Linked DNA regions of Homo sapiens: all the other regions are linked to region 1. The links are contacts of gene promoters, found by promoter capture Hi-C in blood cells and fetal thymus (Javierre and others, 2016). All regions are on one chromosome and are shown on one strand. Each heading gives the region's core, a stretch centred on a gene start or on the middle of the fragment in contact. The rest is flanking DNA. Distances are from core to core; before and after follow the strand shown. Region 1 holds the start of CD200 (CD200 molecule). Region 2 overlaps C3orf52 (chromosome 3 open reading frame 52). Region 3 overlaps C3orf52 (chromosome 3 open reading frame 52). Region 4 overlaps ATG3 (autophagy related 3). Region 5 overlaps SLC35A5 (solute carrier family 35 member A5).

Region 1 (3,545 bases), core at 234-2,733:
AGGAGGCAGAGCTTGCAGTGAGCCGAGATCGCGCCACTGCACTCCAGCCTGGACGACAGAGCGAGACTCCGCCCCCGTCTCCCACCGCCCCCCCCCCAAAAAAAGAAGTGGGAGAATAGGTCAGGTGCAGTGGTTCATGCCTGTAATCCCACTGCTTTGGGAGGCAAAGGTAGAAGGAGCATTTGAGGCTAGGAATTTCAGGCCAGCCTGGGCAACACAAGACCCCGTGTCTGGAAAAAAAAAAAAAGCTGGACATAGTGGCTGCACAACTATCATTCTAGCTACTCTAGAGGCTGAGGTGAGAGGATCCCTTGAGCCCAGGAGTGAGTTATGATCGCACCACTGCATTCCAGCTTGGACAACAGAGCGAGACTTTGTCTGTAAAAAGAAGCAAAAACAAAACCCCAAAGCTTTGTCCCAGCTCCTTATGAGAGGGTGGTAGTAGTAAAACACAAAAGCCTTCAGGAGGTGAACACTTGATGATTTCTTTGTCCTTTTTTTTTTTTTTTTAAGAGCCAAGAACTCTGGAACAAGAAGAAGAAGACGAAGGAGGAGGAGGAGGGGGAGGGGGAGGAGGAGAAGGAGAAGGAGGAGAAGGAGAAGGAGAAGGAGACGGAGAAGGAGGAAGAGGAGGAGGAGGGCCGGGCGCAGTGGCTCACGCCTGTAATCCCAGCATTTTGGGAGGCCGAGGCGGGCGGATCACGAGGTCAAGAGACCGAGACCATCCTGGCTAACATGGTGAAACCCCGTCTCTACTAAAAATACAAAAAATTAGCCGGGCATGGTGGCGGGCGTCTGTAGTCCCAGCTACTCGGGAGGCTGAGGCAGGAGAATGGCGGGAACCCGGGAGGCGGAGCTTGTAGTGAGCCAAGATAGCGCCACTGCACTCCAGCCTGGACCACAGAGCGAGACTCCGTCTCAAGAAGAAGAAGAAGGAGAAGAAGGAGAAGGAGAAGGGAAAAAAGAATCCTCATCATTAATGCAAGTGGAAGGAAACTCTTCACCAAAGAATTGATCACATCATGAAAGGTGAAATCATTACGGAATTGCTTAAATATATAATTTGAATCTGGATTTAAAAATAATAAATGTAAGTTTTTTCTTTAAAAAAAAAAAAAAGTCCATTGGTTAAATTCAGCTTGAATCCTTTGCCACTACATCAAGAGCTAACAGGTCAACAACTGATCTCCACAACCTCCCACCTCATTTCCTTTCTCAGTCCAGGTAGCAGGAAAATGGAAAAAAAAAAATGATTTTTTTTTTCCAAACACTTTGTCAGTTTCCCCAGCGGTCACCTTTGAAAAGGGAAAAATGTCTGAAAATAGACAAAGCTGAATATAAACATCATTTAATTCCCCCCACACAGACAGCCTCCGCTCCTGTGAGGGCGTGGGGAAAACGGAGTGGGAGAAGGGGGCTAGCGAGGAGGAAGAGGCGGGAGGTGCGGCAGGGGCACAGGTGACGCTCCTCCCGCCTGCCTAGCAGAGCTCCAGGCGCACATCCGCAGTCAGCCACCTCGCGCGCGCCTCCAGGAGCAAGGATGGAGAGGCTGGTGAGCGGGGCCGGGGCTTGGGAAGGAGGGCGCAGGGCAGGCGATGTTGAGCCGGTGGCCCTGGGGCGGGCGGCGAGTGGAAGGCGCGGAGCTTCGGCTCTTGCCACAATCTGGTCCGGGGACTAGATCAGCGGTGTTGATGGCAGCGCTTTTCTCTAAGCGCTTTCTCTTGCTGAGAAACGGATTTTGCCTTCCAAAGGGTGGTTTACAGGCAGCTGCTGGCGTCCAGATTCTCCATTCCAATTGCCTGAAAAAAAGATGCACCAGGCCGGGGCTCCGGGGGCTCTTGATCCGCGCTGACGAAGCTGGCGCATCCTCCGGGCAGGCTCGGCTCGGCTCACTGGCTCCAGCTCCCAAAACTGGGGAGGCACAGCCTATTTTAAACTGCCCCCAAAAGGGAAAGAGAAATGCTGTATTGGTTCCATATTGGCACCAAAAGCTGCGGCGGAGATACAGATTTCCAGGCTCGCTTTCTCCGGGAGAGCTCCTGCGTCTCCTCTTTGTTATGCAGCCCCTTTCTCCCTCCTAGCCCTTGCCTGGGGGAAGCCATGAAGGATCAGTTAAAGCTGAAGCTACACTTGAGAGAGCTGAAATGCTCTGTGATCATAATGCTTTGAAGGGTTAACCCCGGGTATCTAGAGAAACAGACATTTTGTTTATTCGGAACCAGCTTACAAGACAAAAAACGGAGAAGGTTTTCATATATCCCATTGGTATATGAAATCCAAATACAATGGTATTGGTATAAGAATCCAAATACAGTGAATGCCTCAAGATAATTTTTTCATGTATGGTTTGTTGGCAAGACCACATAGCCAATGATTTCACTGTCTTTCTTAACAAAGGAGAATGGTGGTCTGTGAGCTACGGTCTACTGCAAGCTAGATGCTGTTAATCTTCTTTGTAACTATCCTTCTAAAAATGAATTATTACCTCGTTTTACACATAAACAGGCGGAAAGGCTGATATTTCCAAGTCCTTGTGACTACATGTGGGGTAATGTGGATTTGGACATAGAAACTTGCTGAGGAAGAGGCATGAATAGGGGCAATATAGCTACCAGGTGGGCAGCTGTCTGGTAAGACCCAGGTTTTTGTGAACCCTGGACTGCATGGCAAGGGTTATAAGTGGGCTTCTTTGTTTTCAGGACTGTAGTTCCCCCTATATGATTTGATCGATTAATTTTTTTAGCTACCTAACACGTATTGGCATTTACTATAACCTAGGCTCTATACTAAGTGCTTTAATTGCCTAATTCTCATAATAACTATGTGAGATAAGAGCAACATTTATTTAGTGCTTATTTCTACTGGCAGTATTCTAGGAGCTTTATATACTACTTCATTTAGTCTTTTTAACCATTAGATTGGTACTATTACTTTTCCGGAGTCTCAGAGAGGTAAAATGATTTCTTTTGCTCACAAATCTAGTATTTGTTTTAGCCCCGGTCACCTCCCTGTAAACATATAAATACTGTTGTTTTCAGATTGGTCGTATTTTCAGTTATTCTGCACAGACTCGAGGAAAAAAAAAACCTGTAAAATAAAAATACGTATCTATTTAAGAGTAAGGCTTTCCTTCTGATTTCCTTTGCCTCAATCACTGTGTTTTGTTTCTTAACATTGCTGGCTCCCAGTCCACAATATATGGTTTGGTATGTATCTGCTTTCTCTCTTGTCCTAAAACACAGATTTTCTCTATGAGAGCTTGTCCATTCTGCATTCTTCATCATGGCCTCTGGTAGAGCCTGGATTTCCACGTCAGAGAAGCCTAATGGTTTAAAAAATATCACATAGAATTGGAATGCCAGTATCTGTCTCCACAATTGCCTTAGCTGAAAATAAAACAAAATGTGTTGGGTGGGCACTGGCAATGGAGCCTGAGGAAATATTTGGCCTGATTTTTTCTGACTTTCCTAGATAATTAGATAGGATGGAACAGTCTCAGTAATACTGAGAAAATTATCGAGTTATATATTTTTTTTCACTTCAAA
Region 2 (3,826 bases), core at 377-2,876, 240 kb before region 1:
GGTGCATTGACACTCATTCTATGGCTCATTTGAAACTAGATATTTCCTTTTGTGCTAATCTTTATGGGTCCCAGCTGCCTTTTATGAGGGCTGAAAATAGCACCAGGGCTTTGGCCTCAGGAGCTCTGTAAATGGGGAGATGTTTCTGTCCCCTGAGAAACTGAAGATTCTTTGTACTGGGATGTCTTTTTCCCGTGTGGCTTCCCCTGGCTTTGAAGCAGTTCTGCAGGTTTTGAGTGGGGATGAGAGGTGACCCTATCCCTGGATTCCAGAAATGCACTTAACTCAAGAGGGATTTCCTCTGTCAAGATATCCCTAGGGCCTTTAAGTGCTCCCCTCGCACCTCTGACAGGCTAGGCCTCAGAGTCAGTGTAAAGTGCACTTGGGAAATCCAACATTTGTCCCCTCATCTAGATTTTCTCAAAGTCCATTCTTAAAATTTCTGGGAGGCCTCTACAACTAAACAGCCCACAATCGTTAAATGTATATTACTTGTAGAAGGCACAGGTGTGGAATATAAGAACAGGGCAGTTTAAGAGCACCCCTCCTCTATGTGGTTTCAGTTTACGCAGGAAGATAAGGCCAGGCTCTGTTTGTTTTTGAACCTGAAACCGGACAGGGCAGTCAGTGGCAACAGCAGATGGGCTATGTGGACAGCTCAGGTATTGGAAGATCTCACTAAGGGCAGGTGGGGAGGGAGGCTTCCACCAAAGGGGAGATTTGACCTAACTCCCGAAAGGTGGGAGGCCTCAGACCAGAGGTCTGCCATGGCCTCCTCCCACCTCCCTTACAATCTGGTCCACTAGGTGCAGGTGGGGCCTAGGTATGTGTCAGTTAAAATCCTTACCCAGTGATTCTGATGTGCAGCCAGGCTTGGGCACCTCTAATTGAGAAGGTTGGAAATACAGTCCAAGTGTGGACTGACCGATTCGTTTTCTGATGGCCAGCACCAAAATAAGAATGGCAGAGAAGGCCAGTCGCGGTGGCTCATGCCTGTAATCCCAGCACTTTGGGAGGTTGAGGCGGGAGGATCACGAGGTCAGGAGATCGAGACCATCCTGGCTAACACAGTGAAACCCCGTCTCTACTAAATATACAAAAAATTAGCCGGGCGTGGTGGCGGGCGCCTGTAGTCCCAGCTACTCGGGAGGCTGAGGCAGGAGAATGGCGTGAACCCGGGAGGCGGAGCTTGCAGTGAGCGGAGATCGTGCTGCTGCACTCCAGCCTGGGCGACAGAGCGAGACTCCATCTCAAGAAAAAAAGAAAAAAAAAAAAAAGAATGGGAGAGAAAGCAGGCCAGGTGGCCAGGTGTCGGTCAGGAGCGAGTCTCCTCGAGTGCCGGCTGCTGCTTTGTGGGATGGTGAACGCTGAGGAATGACTGAGGCGCAGTTGCACCCTTTGGCCGAACTCCCAATAATTGTTTAGCAGATGCTTTGTGTCCATTATCTCTAGTTTTTGCAACAGTCCTGTGAGCTAATTTACTATTTATATATTTTAAAGCTGAGGACTTTGGGGCCTATGAGTTTCAGTAGCTTGCTTAAAGCCACCTTGCCTTTAAGTGGTATATCTTGGTTTGGAATCCAAGTGTGTTAGATACAGACACATTTTTTCCCCATTGTATTCTGTTGTTTCCCATGGTCTCCATGAAAGAATTATCTAATGGTGGAGTGGGAAGTAGGAGAAGAGTCATGGGACCATATAGGGTAAGGTGGGGGCCCCTCTGTGACACCCTCATAAACCGGAGCTCTGCACAGTGATGTGGACAAAAGGGAAAGTTGGAGAGCTTTGTGGAGACACACAGCAGGGATTGGTTCTGGCTCATCTCTCTGAATTGCGTCTTTGAAATGGACTAGTGCACACCCTGAAGGGCTGTTAGGGTTAAGTGAAATGACGCTGGTGCTCAATAAACCATAGCAGTTGTACTTGTTTTCATTGACCCCTCCTCTGCCTCACTCCAGCCTTCTCACTCCAGCTTTGCAGCTTATTTCCTGTTGTCTCTTGCAGCTGTCCTTTCATTTCCCTTCCCAACCCTTTTTTACATAGAACCTAGGCCACAGCAGTAGCCTTGTAGCTTTTTCTTGGTGTTTCCACTCTAAACCACACATGATTTTCCCTTAATTTTCAACTCGGCTCTGGTGTTTCAAAACCTTCAAGTTTCCAGTGCACACCCAATTAAGTCCAATCTATTCTGGGACAGCTATCAACACCCTCTGAGTGTGCTCCCAGCCTTTCACTCTCTCTAATCTTAACTTTCATTATTTGCCTCTGAAACCCACATTCCAGTCGGCAGGCTAGTCTGCTGGCCGGTTCCATTACGAATCCACACTTTGGATGCTCTTTCCTGGGTTTGGAATGCCTTCAAAAATCCATCTTTCAAAATCCTGCCTATCCTCCCCACTTCAGAGCCCCCAGAGGATTTTCTTGCTAACTTCTTGATGAGGTTCTGTTCTGCCTCTGATCTCTCTTTTTGAAAACTTGATTCAGTAGAGTGTTGCCCTAAGGTCAGGGTCTTGCTGCCTTCATTTCTGTGTCTCTGGCACATCCTAGGTATTCAGAACTGTCTGTTGCAACACAATGACTGCCTCACAATCTCCCTCTGCCTTTCTAGGCTAACAAGGAAAGCCCCTGGAGCTCCTGTAATAAGAATGTGGTTGGAAGATGCAAACTGTGGATGATCATCACCTCCATTTTCCTAGGTGTCATTACAGTGATCATCATAGGCTTATGTCTTGCTGCAGGTAAGAGGATTTAGATGTGAATAAATAACACATTTTAAGAACTTACTTAAGGCTTGTGACTTACACTGAAATGGAAGATGTACTCATAGCCATTTCATTATTTATAATGTGAATTTAAGACCGGCTTGGAATATATTGTATGGGTGGGAGATATGCCTGATTCTTGTGTTTTTGTTTTCTGTTGTTGTTGTATTTTGTTGTTTTATAAGCTCCAGAAGAAATATAGAAACCAGTGTTTTACTTTAAACTCTGCTCATTGGATCTTGAAGAGGTTTCTTAATGTTTCAACTTACTTAAACACTGATTTATATTTTATTTATATCCTGATACCTGTTGATTTGAATTCTTTTTCTTTTCATTTGTTTGCTAAAAATAATTATACTTCATCTGGTGTGTCTGATATATTACTATGATGATAAAATAATAAATAATGTATTTGAAAGAGTTTTAAAAAACTTTGAAGAACCATGTGTCCATAAGCTGTCATTATTTTAACTTATTGTATTTATTTATTTTTTTTTTTGAGAGAAAGTCTTACTCTGTCACCCAGGCTAGAGTGCAGTGGCACGACTTTGGCTCGCTGCAACCTCTGCCTCCCAAGTTCAAGGAATTCTCATGCCTCAGCCTCCGAAATAGCTGGAATTATAGGCATGTGCCACCACGCCCAGCTAATTTTTGTATTTTTAGTAGAGACGGGGTTTTGCCATGTTGTCCGGGTTGGTCTTGAACTCCTGACCTCAAGTGATCTGCCTGCCTTGGCCTCCCAAATTGCTGGGATTAGAGGCATGAGCCACCATGCTTGGCCCAATTTTAACTTGTTTTAGAAATGACTGTTTATTTTATTAGTGTTGTATGTGTGTATAAAACAAAAAATGTATAGAATGCTAACTATATATGACTACATCTATTCCATATATTATTTCATGTTGTTGCTTATTTTGATTGAAAAATGATATATGTTCAGTTACCCATAAAACCCATCTGTAATATTAATATTTGGTCATATTTTCTTCTAGTCTTTTGTTTAGTTGCATTTCTAAAATAATTTGAGATTAGATTTCTTTATAGTCTTGTGGACTACCTTTAGG
Region 3 (3,809 bases), core at 799-3,298, 220 kb before region 1:
TCCTAAGTACAGCAGAGGAGCATGATCAAAAAGAATCTTCGAGTGAACACTAAAAATGATTTAGTCGACCACTCCATATGTTACCTTAAAATTTTAACTTAAAAATTTGCTGAAAGCCTGTTATGTGCAAAACACTGTGCTGGGCCCTAAAGATTAATAAAGGAAAGAAGGGAAGGAGGAAGCAGAGAAGACTGGAAGGAAGGATAAATATCACCTTTGCCATAGGAAGCTCAATCCAAAAGGAAGAGAAAGACATGAGTGCTTGACATTAGTGCTTGAAAAGATTCTCCTCTGCAGCATCCTCATCCTCCTCTCCATCACAGCATCCCCGTGAAAGCTGCTTTCCTAGTTCCCGAGTTTTCTAAATGACTGTCAGCCTATCGGCAACATCCTGTGCATTGGGGCTTAAGAGCTGTACAATGACTCAGTCATTTTCTCCGAAAGTTTTTGTCACTTTAAGCTTCTTTCCTCCTTGATATTCAGGAGACACTTTCCTTCACTGTATATATATCAATTTCTTCTTCACTGGGTAGTGTGGTCAGATGGGAAGAAGCTGGTTTTTAGTGTTCATAACATGTAGGATTGAATTTTGGCTTCTCCTTTTACTAGCACAGTGACCTGGGACAGGTTTTCTTCATCTCATGGAATGGAGTGCTGTTTAATTTTCCAGTAAAAAGGGGAGATATATTAATGCCTGTTTTGCCAGGTTTTTATAAAGATCACAACAGTAGTGACAAGATTAGAAGAGCAGAAATAGCAGGCACTCTCATCTTTTGTTCTCTTTGAGATATGGGTTGTACATGTTGAGTTAAATGGGAGTGTATTGTGGAAGTGCAGCGTCCTTGACATTCCATTTGGAGTTGAGGGGAAACAGGGTAAGCTCCCCATAGGGCACTGCTGTTTTTTGTATGTTCGACTGCTTGTTATTGAATAAAGTAATAGGTCATTAAGCCATAATGGCTGTAGCTGGGGATGGCACATGTTCCTAGTACTACTAGTTTAGGATTCAGATATCTGAAACACAACTACTCAATGCCTGGGAAAAGATACTTGTAACATAATATCAACAACTAGTATCCAGAATATAAAACTAACCACTTCAGATAGATAAGAAAAAGACAGATAAGCCAAGAGAAGGAAAGGAAATGAGTGAGAAATTCAGAGATGAAAAGTCCCAAAGAGTTAATAAACATGAAAAGATGTTCAACCTCACTAGTAAGCGAGGCAGTACAAATTAAAACAATGTGAAGCACTATTTTATACTCCTCGGAGTGGTAAAAATTTAAGTTTGGTAACACTAAGTGCTGGTAAGGATGTGGGAAATGGATATTTATACATTGCTGGGAGGGGTGGGAAAGGGAGAACAATTTTGTGAAGTTGGAGATGCACCTACCCTTAAACCCAACAATTCCTTTTCTTGGCATATGCCCATTGGAAACTCCCGCATGTCCAAGAAGAGATGCATGGAGACATTAAGGATGATTGCTTCAGCATAAGTTGTGATGGGGAAAATTGAGAATAGTGCATGTGATCATCATCAGAGGAATGGATAGGCTGGTATACTCATTTAAAGGAATCTGTGCAGGAGTTAGGTGAATGCCTTTCATTGAGATTTACTTTATGGGTAAATCTTAAATGTAATTTTGAGTGAAAAAAGGCAAGTTTTAGAAGATTATGTAGAATATGGTGCCTTTTATTTGAATAAAAACACAAATTATATTTTGTTATGATTACATAAATAAGTAGTAATTTGTAAAAATATGCAAGGAAAGGATGCATGCCAGCTTCAGAATGATGGTTAGTATTAAGAAAGAGAGAGAGGAGGAACTGAATAGTATGTAGGAGTCACTTTAGCTTTATTTTGTTTCTTAAATTAAAGGGCTGAACCCAATATAGCAAATATGAAGACATGAAAGCTAGGTAGTGGAAACACAGGTGTCATTATTTTTTATGATGCTTGCAATATTTCATGCATAAAATAAAGCCTCCATATTTTTGCAGTTCCCCTCTTTGTCTCTTTGTCCAGGGGATGTGCTAGACCCATGGCTTAGCATGGCTGTTTGTCTTTACACTGAAGCTCTGGAGAAGGGAGAAAGAAGCCCTGGGCTAAGCAATGTCCCAGGTGCTAAGTGGTCTGTGCTGCTGCTGTCCAGCAGCCATTTTGGGGTCTTCTCTTCTCTCCTTCCTATGGTCTGTGAGGCCTGTGTGGGCTCCAGCTGCTGATATTCTCACCACTAAGGCCACAGGGTGCCAGTGCAACTTCTGAGAGAAACTGAGTCATTTGGTCCTTATAAATGGAGTTCTTTTGAAGTAGCATTAACTTGAGTTTTGATTTATGGTGGGCTCAATTCTTGATCCAGAGCTTCCAGATAACGTTGATTCCAGGCTGGAGTGGAATCTCCTCTGCCTTAGAAGCAGTTTTGCTTTGTCAGGTGATGTGTAATATGATCTGTCGGTAATGTGTGTGGTTTAATTTGCTTCTGTTTGTTTAGCTCACAGATGTGTACAGTACATCGCCCTCTCTGGGTCGTTATTTTACTTCAGTTGAAATAGTGGACTTCAGGTAAGAGTGTGGAACATTACATTTTGCTCTCTTTCTCTGGAAAGAGATCCCCCCACCCCACCCTTCGTCATTTACCTAGCAGGGATTCCCAGAGCCTCAGAGCATGAAGGGAACCTGTAATAGAATCACAGAATGTCAGTGCTGGGAAGGTCTTTTACACCAACAGGCTCAACTCCCTTATTTTACAAATGAGAAAAAGGAAGCCCAGATTAATGGTATAATTCAACCAGGGTCACACAGAAGAGGGGAAAAGCCAGTCCCAGGTAAACCATTTCTGTTTAACAATGAATGCTCAAATAAGCTAAGGGTAGAAGTAGAAATAGATCTCAGGTCGTGCTGTGATGCGAGTGATACATGTATAGGCATTTGCTTTTGAGGAGCACAAGTAATACAGGAGTACATTCTCCTTGTTTAGTATTAAAGATGTAAAGAGGGGCCGGGCGTGGTAGCTCACGCCTGTAATCCCAGCACTTTGCGAGGCCAAGGCGGGCAGATCACTTGAGGTCAGGAGTTCAAGACTAGCCTGGCCAACGTGGTGAAACCCTGTCTCAACTAAAAATACAAAAATTAGCCAGGTGTGTTGGTGGGTGCCTCTAATCCCAGCTACTCAGGAGGCTGAGGCAGGAGAATCTCTTGAATTCGGGAGGGGAGGTTGCAGTGAGCCGAGATTGCGCCACTGCACTCCAGCCTGAGTGACAGAGTGAGACTCTGTCAAAAAAATAAAAATAAATAAAAATAAAAAAAAGAAGACATAAAGAGGTATGCACAGGAAAAGTCTCCCTTCTGCCTCCTTTCTTCTCCACTGCCACCACCAATAACTAATGCCATTCCCTTCCATGGAGGTAATAGCTGTCAAGAGTTGAGTGTAATTACTTCTGTTCATGTATCTACCATAGGCACCACAAATACTACACACACATAGGATATACACACCCATATGTATTTTTTATTTTTTAAATTTCCTCCTCATCTTTAATGTTCTTGAGATGTAGGCATCAGGGTGTATGTGTGTAGAGTCCATTTATTATCCTTTTACATCATTGGGACTATTGGAGATGACTTAAAATTTATATCAAAGCTTCATTATCCATTATGCCTGAGATGTCTCTGGAATATGACCATCAAAAGTTGTATTATATTGAGATTCCCCCTTCAAACTATAAGTTCTCCAAACCCTAATATTAGCAGACCTGGGAGGGGAGGCACATAAAGCAGGTGGTAGGTAGCACCATGGTGTGGGGCCAAA
Region 4 (3,493 bases), core at 691-3,190, 220 kb after region 1:
GAAAACACCTACAAAATTAACAAATTGAATTCTCTCTAAAAAACCTTAGACTTCCTAAGCGGGCTGAATATTGTACAAGTTTTTGTTTTTCTTCAGAAATAAAAACCAGATTCAGGGAGATAAACTTTAACCATTTGAGAATTATCAGTTTACACGAACATGAGCTGATCTTACTGGCGAACAGAAATCCTGCTTATTTCTGAGGGCAGAAAATTTAAGTCTGTTAAGCATAACTGCAGTGTCCCAACTCAAGCAGGATGTGCATTGTCAGGCCTCTGAGCCCAAGCTAAGCCATCATATACCCTGTGACCTGCACGTATACATCTAGATGTGCTGAAGCAACTGAAGATCCACAAAAGAAGTGAAAATAGCCTTAATTGATGACACTCCACCATTGTGATTTGTTTCTGCCCCACCCTAACTGATCAAGGTACTTTGTAATCTCCCCCATCCTTAAGAAGGTTCTTTGTAATTCTCCCCATCCTTGAGAATGTATTTTGTGCCATCCACCCCCTGCCCACAAAACATTGCTCCTAACTCCACTGCCTATCCCAAAATCTATAAGAACTAATGATAATCTCACCATCCTTTGCTCTTTTCGGACTCAGCCCGCCTGCACCCAGGTGAAATAAACAGCCTTGTTGCTCACACAAAGCCTGTTTGGTGGTCTCTACACATGGACGCATGTGACACCCACATACTTGCCAAATTACTTCTATTTTGCAACAGCTCTAGCTTAAAATCTTGTATTGTTCATGGGTTTACTACACAGCAAAAAATTACAAAATATTTAATCTCTAATACCTTTGAGAAAGTATGCCTATATAAAATACTCTAGTTTAATTTGAGCATATAATTCTATCAAATAAGAATTCTAAGAATAACCTCTTTTAAGATGAAACATTAACAAGATATAGCAACTGGATTCCTGATAGAAACTTTATGTTTCTGTTCTTTTACTTCGAATAACCTTATTATTTAAACAGCCTAAGTAAAGACAAAAACCAAAATAAAAACAATAGTCTCTTCCCCAAATTTTGAGCACTTCGAGCTCATTGCAACCAGATGCTACATTTAGCTCTGTGGTTATCAGGAACTAATTTATTACCATTAAAAGTAATAATTTAACTAAATGAAAGCAAAATAATTAAAAATAAAAAATTCTTTCATTGTATTGCCTTGAGGTAACAAGACTAACATTTTATCTCATAGTCCCTATAGTATCTTCTATTTAAAAACAAGAACACTAGGAGGCAAGAAAAACGAAAAACAAAAAACAAAACAAAAAAAACACAGACTCACACTGATAATACATGTGTACATCTGCCCTCATTAGCAATGGCCATCATAACTTGCTTCACGTGTTCAAATGATGCAAGATTCAAATTTCTAAATGATCAATATTGCTTGCAATAGCTTTCTCTTAGAGACTAAAAATGTTCTCTTATTATCTTTATTATCAGTATATAATACTGACCAACTCCAACAAGAATCAATATTTACACCTTGGTGAGCAATTCCATTCCTCAAGCTAACCTCAATTAATAGTATTCTACTTAAACAAGTCATACATACATCCAACATTAGTTTTTTCTTTGTTTTTTGACAATACAGTATCAGATACTAGCTGCCCCTCTTTTTAAGCACAATACTGCCACACCTCTGAATGAAAACAAAAAGATAGCTGATGTCTGGCAGAAACTCAGAAACAGCAAGATGAAACAAATGAACAAATCAACTCAGTATATAATATTTACACAAAGCAAATGATGCCTTCCCATTTCCTCCTCCAGGCTCATTCTACTCTAACTCAATCCTGTAATTGTGCTCTATCCCAACCCTGCATTATGTAATAGACAGCCAGCTGGGCTAATTTGGCCTTGGATTTTTTTAGAGAGGAAAATTCATAAATTGATTGATGTTGTAATTAAGTGTAACAGTTATTTATTCTAGGATGAATTCCTGTTTTGAAACTGCTTAATTCTATCCAATGACCACAGACTTTGCATCTCTAACTGCAACTATATATTCAACAATTAGTCATCTTCACAGAGGAAATAAAACCAAAGAGTGCAATAAGAACAGCATACTTTCATCTCCGCTCTTGATTTCAGATAAAGAGCCATGTTCAAATTACACCTCTGTTTGGCAAGAATGTTAATGATATCCTTAAAATCAAAACTTAGTTTTATTTGGCATTTGAGGTAATAAAACCTAAGGCAGAATAGGATCTTTACAGAATGTCTAGCCCACAACCGTTATTTTATAGATGAGGAAACATGAAGCCTCGGCAGGGATAGTTTAACTGATTTCCTCATTAGGAGAAATTACCGTCCCGTCCGGGAGGTGAGGGGCGCCTCTGCCTGGCCGCCCCTACTGGGAAGTGAGGAGCCCCTCTGCCCGGCCGCCCCTACTGGGAAGAGAGGAGCCCCTCTGCCCGGCCAGCCGCCCCATCCGGGAGGGAGGTGGGGGGGTCAGCCCCCCGCCCGGCCAGCCGCCCCGTCCGGGAGGTGAGGGGCACCTCTGCCCGGCCGCCCCTACTGGGAAGTGAGGAGCCCCTCTGCCCGGCCACCACCCCGTCTGGGAGGTGTACTCAACAGCTCATTGAGAACGGGCCATGATGACAATGGCGGTTTTGTGGAATAGAAAGGGGGGAAAGGTGGGGAAAAGATTGAGAAATCGGATGGTTGCCATGTCTGTGTAGAAAGAGGTAGACATTGTAGACTTTTCATTTTGTTCTGTACTAAGAAAAATTCTTCTGCCTTGGGATCCTGTTGATCTGTGACCTTACCCCCAACCCTGTGCTCTCTGAAACATGTGCTGTGTCCACTCAGGGTTGAATGGATTAAGGGTGGTGCAAGATGTGCTTTGTTAAACAGATGCTTGAAGGCAGCATGCTCGTTAAGAGTCATCACCACTCCCTAACCTCAAGTACCCAGGGACACAAACACTGCGGAAGGCCACAGGGTCCTCTGCCTAGGAAAACCAGAGACCTTTGTTCACTTATCTGCTGACCTTCCCTCCACTATTGTCCTGTGACCCTGCCAAATCCCCCTCTGCGAGAAACACCCAAGAATGATCAATTAAAAAAAAAAAAGAAATTACAGAAATAGGTCTAGAAGGCAGGTCTCCTAGGTTATTTCCATACTACCATGTGTCTTCACCAAAAACAAAAGACAATTTTAGAGAAAAGATTAGTTATGCAAACCATTTTTTTTTTTCAGACGGAGTCTCGTTCTGTCGCCCAGGCTGGACTACAGGCGCCCACCATCACGCCCCGCTAATTTTTTATATTTTTAGTAGAGACGGGGTTTCGCCCTGTTAGCCTGTATTCCGCCTGCCTCTGCCTCCTAAAGTGTTGGGATTACAGGCGTGAGCCACCACGCCCAGCACAGAAACCATTCTTAAAACTCACAAGGAGCCGGGCGCAGTGGCTCAAGCCTGTAATCCCGAGGCAGGCGGATCACGAGGTCAAGAGGTCGAGACCATTCTG
Region 5 (3,560 bases), core at 1,051-3,550, 250 kb after region 1:
CCCCTGATAACTACCATTTCACTCTCTTTTTTTCTTTGAATTTGACTACTTTAGATTCCTCATATGAATAGAATCATACAGTATTTGTCTTTTGGGACTGGCTTATTTCACTTAGCTTAGCATATTGTCTTCACGGTTCATCCATGTAGCATGTGACAGGATTTCCTTCCAATTTTTAAAGCTGAAAAATATCTCATTGATGTATGTGCTTTTATTACATTTTGAAGTCAACTTAACTTTGTTCTATTTTGATCTTTTTGGAGTTGGTGGTGTGCATTGGTTTTCCCTATTTAATTTACTCTTTGTGAATCATTTGATGGTCTTTTTGCCCTTTGTGATTAAATTTTGACCTAGGAGTAGCAGCTTAATAGTTCTATCACATATTCTTTGTTTGCCACTTTTCATTTAGAATATTAAATCTGTTGTCTTATACTTGATTGTATCAGAACTATCAAATACCTTTCCCATACAGGTAAAGAATACAAGGCTACAAAATAAAATAGAATAATTTTTAAAAAAAATTTTTTAAGAAAAAAAAAAATAATTTTTAAAAATTCTTAAAAAGAATATGAGGCTACAAAAGCAGGCAAAAGTAAGTCTGGTAACTACTGCAGGGATTACTTGGAGGAATTTGAAAGTGGGAAAAAAAATATTATCATCTAAATGTCCTATTGTCTTTTCTAAAAAGAATAAAATACCTAAAGGCATTCTCATAAAAGACAATATTAGATTATTAGCATGTTATTTTCCAAGGATTCAAACTTTATGTGAATGTATAGATTTGTTCTTTGAAGTATAAGCCACAATATTAGATTATTAGCATGTTATTTTCCAAGGATTCAAACTTTATGTGAATGTATAGATTTGTTCTTTGAAGTATAAGCCACTGGTTCATGGTAGAAACTGGTAGCAGGCATTATGCCTTGTAGCTTGCTTCCCTGGTTTGCTTGTAACCTAAGCAAAGTTGCACAATTTTGTTTGCTTTAGCTTTGGGAAATAATACCAACCTAAACATTGAGATTGGAGGCAAAGGATAACCAAGACCAGCACTTATTTTTACCTAAAAAATGTATATAAGTTTCTCTGATTTCCTCAAAGAGAAGGTATGGAAAAAAATTATTTAAAAATACATTTTGAAACATGGTGGATGTCTAGGAAGTAAGGGTAAAGTTTAGTTACTGTCTGAAACAGCAGAAGAACAAAGAGAAGTGCCACTCAGTAGTAGTACAAGCATTTCTCCAGAATCATTCATTCAGTTGATAAATTTTCTCTGTGACTTCTCATTATAAATCTGCCCCTTGTCACTCTCTTTGTGCTACTAAGAAATGTGTTTTGTACAGTTTCTTGAGAAAACAATTATGTGAGTCTTTCCATTTAATTGTCTTCATACCCTGCACTAGTTTACTACCACCAAATATAGAAGTGCTCTTATCTGACACAATTTGAACCTATTGGTTAGTTGCTAGGAAAACTTATAGTGATGAATCATATACATAAGTATATATAGAAAATATCTAAACAATTTATTTTAACTTAGAATATGTAAATATACATGTATTCATCATTCTTCTAATGTTGAACTAAAGCCCCCCCTTTGAGTATGTTACTGATTGAAGTTCCTTAGCTCACCTATATGTTATTAGAAAACAGCTTTTTATCTTCTGAATGATTTACCTTCACTTAGTCTTCCCAAAGTGTTCAACTTAGTTTTCATAAAAACAGCTTCTTGTCTTTTACTCATAGTTTATCATTTATGTAATCTTTATGTAGTGACAACAGTGAGGTCACCTGGCAAAAACATGTTTAGGAACAGAGATTCTGTGGGCAAACAATTCACTTGGGAGGAGAGGCCCTCAGGAAGAGTAGCCTTCTAGCCACAGGCATTCGGCTCTGAGCATCCATTACTATGTTTTACCGAGGCAGTGGAGAGATGAGTGAAGTGAGCTTCCACTGTTTTGTATCAGTTAAACTGAAGAACAAATTGGGCCTAGCAGACTCAGTTGTCATTTCAGATTGTCAGCTGACTTTACAGGGTAATTTATTAAGCTTTATTTTCTTTCCTAAAAATCTACCATTTTTAATTTTTAGCTTAATCCTTAATAAATTTTACGTTCCTTAGAGCATTACCTTGAATGAGTAATTGTTTACAGAAGGTGTTGTTTAGCTTAAGGATTTCTTTCTTTTTTCTTAATATTAGTGAAAAATGTATAGCTCTAGAAAACTTTTAAAGGAACTATAGATTATATCATTGCCTCACTTATATGCGATTTGCAATAATTAATTATGGAATTTTTTTTGTAAAATGGACACCCATTTTTTATCTCTGTGGTCATTCTATTTGTTTTCTGCTACTTAATGTGTATCAGCTGCACCTTCAGAAATTTAAGTGGTTAGTTCACAGTTTCTCACCTGATGGCATAAGGCTGCGCTAACGCCATCAGTAAGTTCTAGATCAGGCTATTTGAAAATTACATACATATGAGAAAGCATATAATAGTGTGCACAGGTATGCTGCTATCTAGGCTAGTCTGTGCATTTAGCAGTTTCAGAGCATGAAGCTTTATATGCACACAACTTCCTATATGTGCATCCTGGAAACTTAGAATTATACTTAGGAGGTGTGATGATGCAGAAGGAAGACATACAAAACCATGGATCCGATCCCTTCTTTAGTGTTTAAGTACATGACCTTAGGGAAATCTGTTAGGTTAACTGTTTCCTCCCTTAGAGCGGAAATGCCTAAGTGTATGGTAGGTGCTCAATAAATGCTCCAATGATATAAAAATTCTCACTTCTGGTTCCCACCTATTGCTTTACACTTCTGCATTTTTTATGTTCCTCTTTTTTTCTCGGTGTTCCCCTTCTTTGCCTAACTAACTGATCTTCAAACATCAAGATTTTGTTCCCCCAAGAGGCCTCCTGACAACGCCAATGAAAGTGAGATATTCCTCTTTGTCAACATTGTACATTCTTGTTGCCTTTGCATAGAGACTCTTCCCTCTGCCTGGATATATCACCACCTCCTTTTTCACATGATAAACTTCAATTAATTTTTCATCTTCTAGCTCAAGTGTCATTTCCTCTTTGAAGCAATACCTGACTATTTACAGATTGTAGTGTTCCTCAGTTTACTCCACTTGTCCCATTAATCACTTTTCACACATACTGAAATCATTTAGTTTCATTGTTTTCTCACTGTTAAAGCATAAATTCCTTGAACATGGAGATAAGTCATCTTTATCGCCCCAGGTTGCCTGGCACGTAGTAGCTGCTTATTAAACATCTGTTGAATAGAATGAATCAGCAAAATGGAATAATAATAGTACATGTCCTTTATTTCTCACAAGTTTGTTGCTAAGGAAAATAAACAAAGGATTGTTAGGACTTTGTAAACTGAAATACTGCCCAAAATAACATTTTTCTTTGGCTTGTCAGCCAGCAGTTTGCTGTTTAATGCTCTACGATTAGGACATGGATCTAGAGCTAACCTTCTCCTTTAAATCTTTTTTGGGTTATGGACACCTTTAAAGATTTGACAAAGCTTTGCAGGATCTCCTGCA

Evidence for each region. The method cuts DNA at HindIII sites, captures the fragments that hold promoters and counts their contacts. A CHiCAGO score of 5 or more calls a contact.
Region 2: a contact is called between a fragment that was not itself captured here and the fragment with the promoter of CD200 in region 1, in 3 of 17 cell types (naive B cells, M2 macrophages and naive CD8 T cells). The highest score is 6.0, in naive B cells.
Region 3: a fragment that was not itself captured here is called in contact with the fragment with the promoter of CD200 in region 1 in 16 of 17 cell types (total B cells, naive B cells, naive CD4 T cells and 13 more); the score reaches 22.4 in total B cells.
Region 4: a fragment that was not itself captured here is called in contact with the fragment with the promoter of CD200 in region 1 in 7 of 17 cell types (naive B cells, total B cells, activated CD4 T cells and 4 more); the score reaches 8.0 in naive B cells.
Region 5: a fragment that was not itself captured here is called in contact with the fragment with the promoter of CD200 in region 1 in 2 of 17 cell types (naive B cells and total B cells); the score reaches 6.8 in naive B cells.

Annotation. Positions count from the first base shown.
Region 1 is chr3:112,331,673-112,335,217 of GRCh38, forward strand. CD200 (CD200 molecule) reads left to right here and starts at 1,484. Exons shown (of 6, transcript NM_005944.7): 1 at 1,484-1,552. The coding sequence starts at 1,541. It overlaps LOC105374042 (a long non-coding RNA gene), which reads left to right. Exons shown (of 5, transcript NR_147411.1): 5 at 514-1,082. RefSeq lists enhancers at 1,151-2,108, 2,109-3,065. The HindIII fragment of the contact is 4,002 bases long and covers 409-3,545 here.
Region 2 is chr3:112,090,752-112,094,577 of GRCh38, forward strand. It overlaps C3orf52 (chromosome 3 open reading frame 52), which reads left to right. Exons shown (of 6, transcript NM_024616.3): 2 at 2,609-2,738. Among named protein-coding and RNA genes, the nearest start is that of C3orf52, 6.3 kb to the left of the region's middle. The HindIII fragment of the contact is 7,540 bases long and covers 1-3,826 here.
Region 3 is chr3:112,107,051-112,110,859 of GRCh38, forward strand. It overlaps C3orf52 (chromosome 3 open reading frame 52), which reads left to right. Exons shown (of 6, transcript NM_024616.3): 4 at 2,493-2,563. Among named protein-coding and RNA genes, the nearest start is that of MIR567, 3.8 kb to the right of the region's middle. The HindIII fragment of the contact is 3,181 bases long and covers 459-3,639 here.
Region 4 is chr3:112,553,935-112,557,427 of GRCh38, forward strand. All of the region lies in intron 2 of ATG3 (autophagy related 3), which reads right to left. Among named protein-coding and RNA genes, the nearest start is that of ATG3, 6.3 kb to the right of the region's middle. The HindIII fragment of the contact is 3,918 bases long and covers 1-3,493 here.
Region 5 is chr3:112,576,563-112,580,122 of GRCh38, forward strand. All of the region lies in intron 5 of SLC35A5 (solute carrier family 35 member A5), which reads left to right. Among named protein-coding and RNA genes, the nearest start is that of SLC35A5, 16 kb to the left of the region's middle. The HindIII fragment of the contact is 512 bases long and covers 2,045-2,556 here.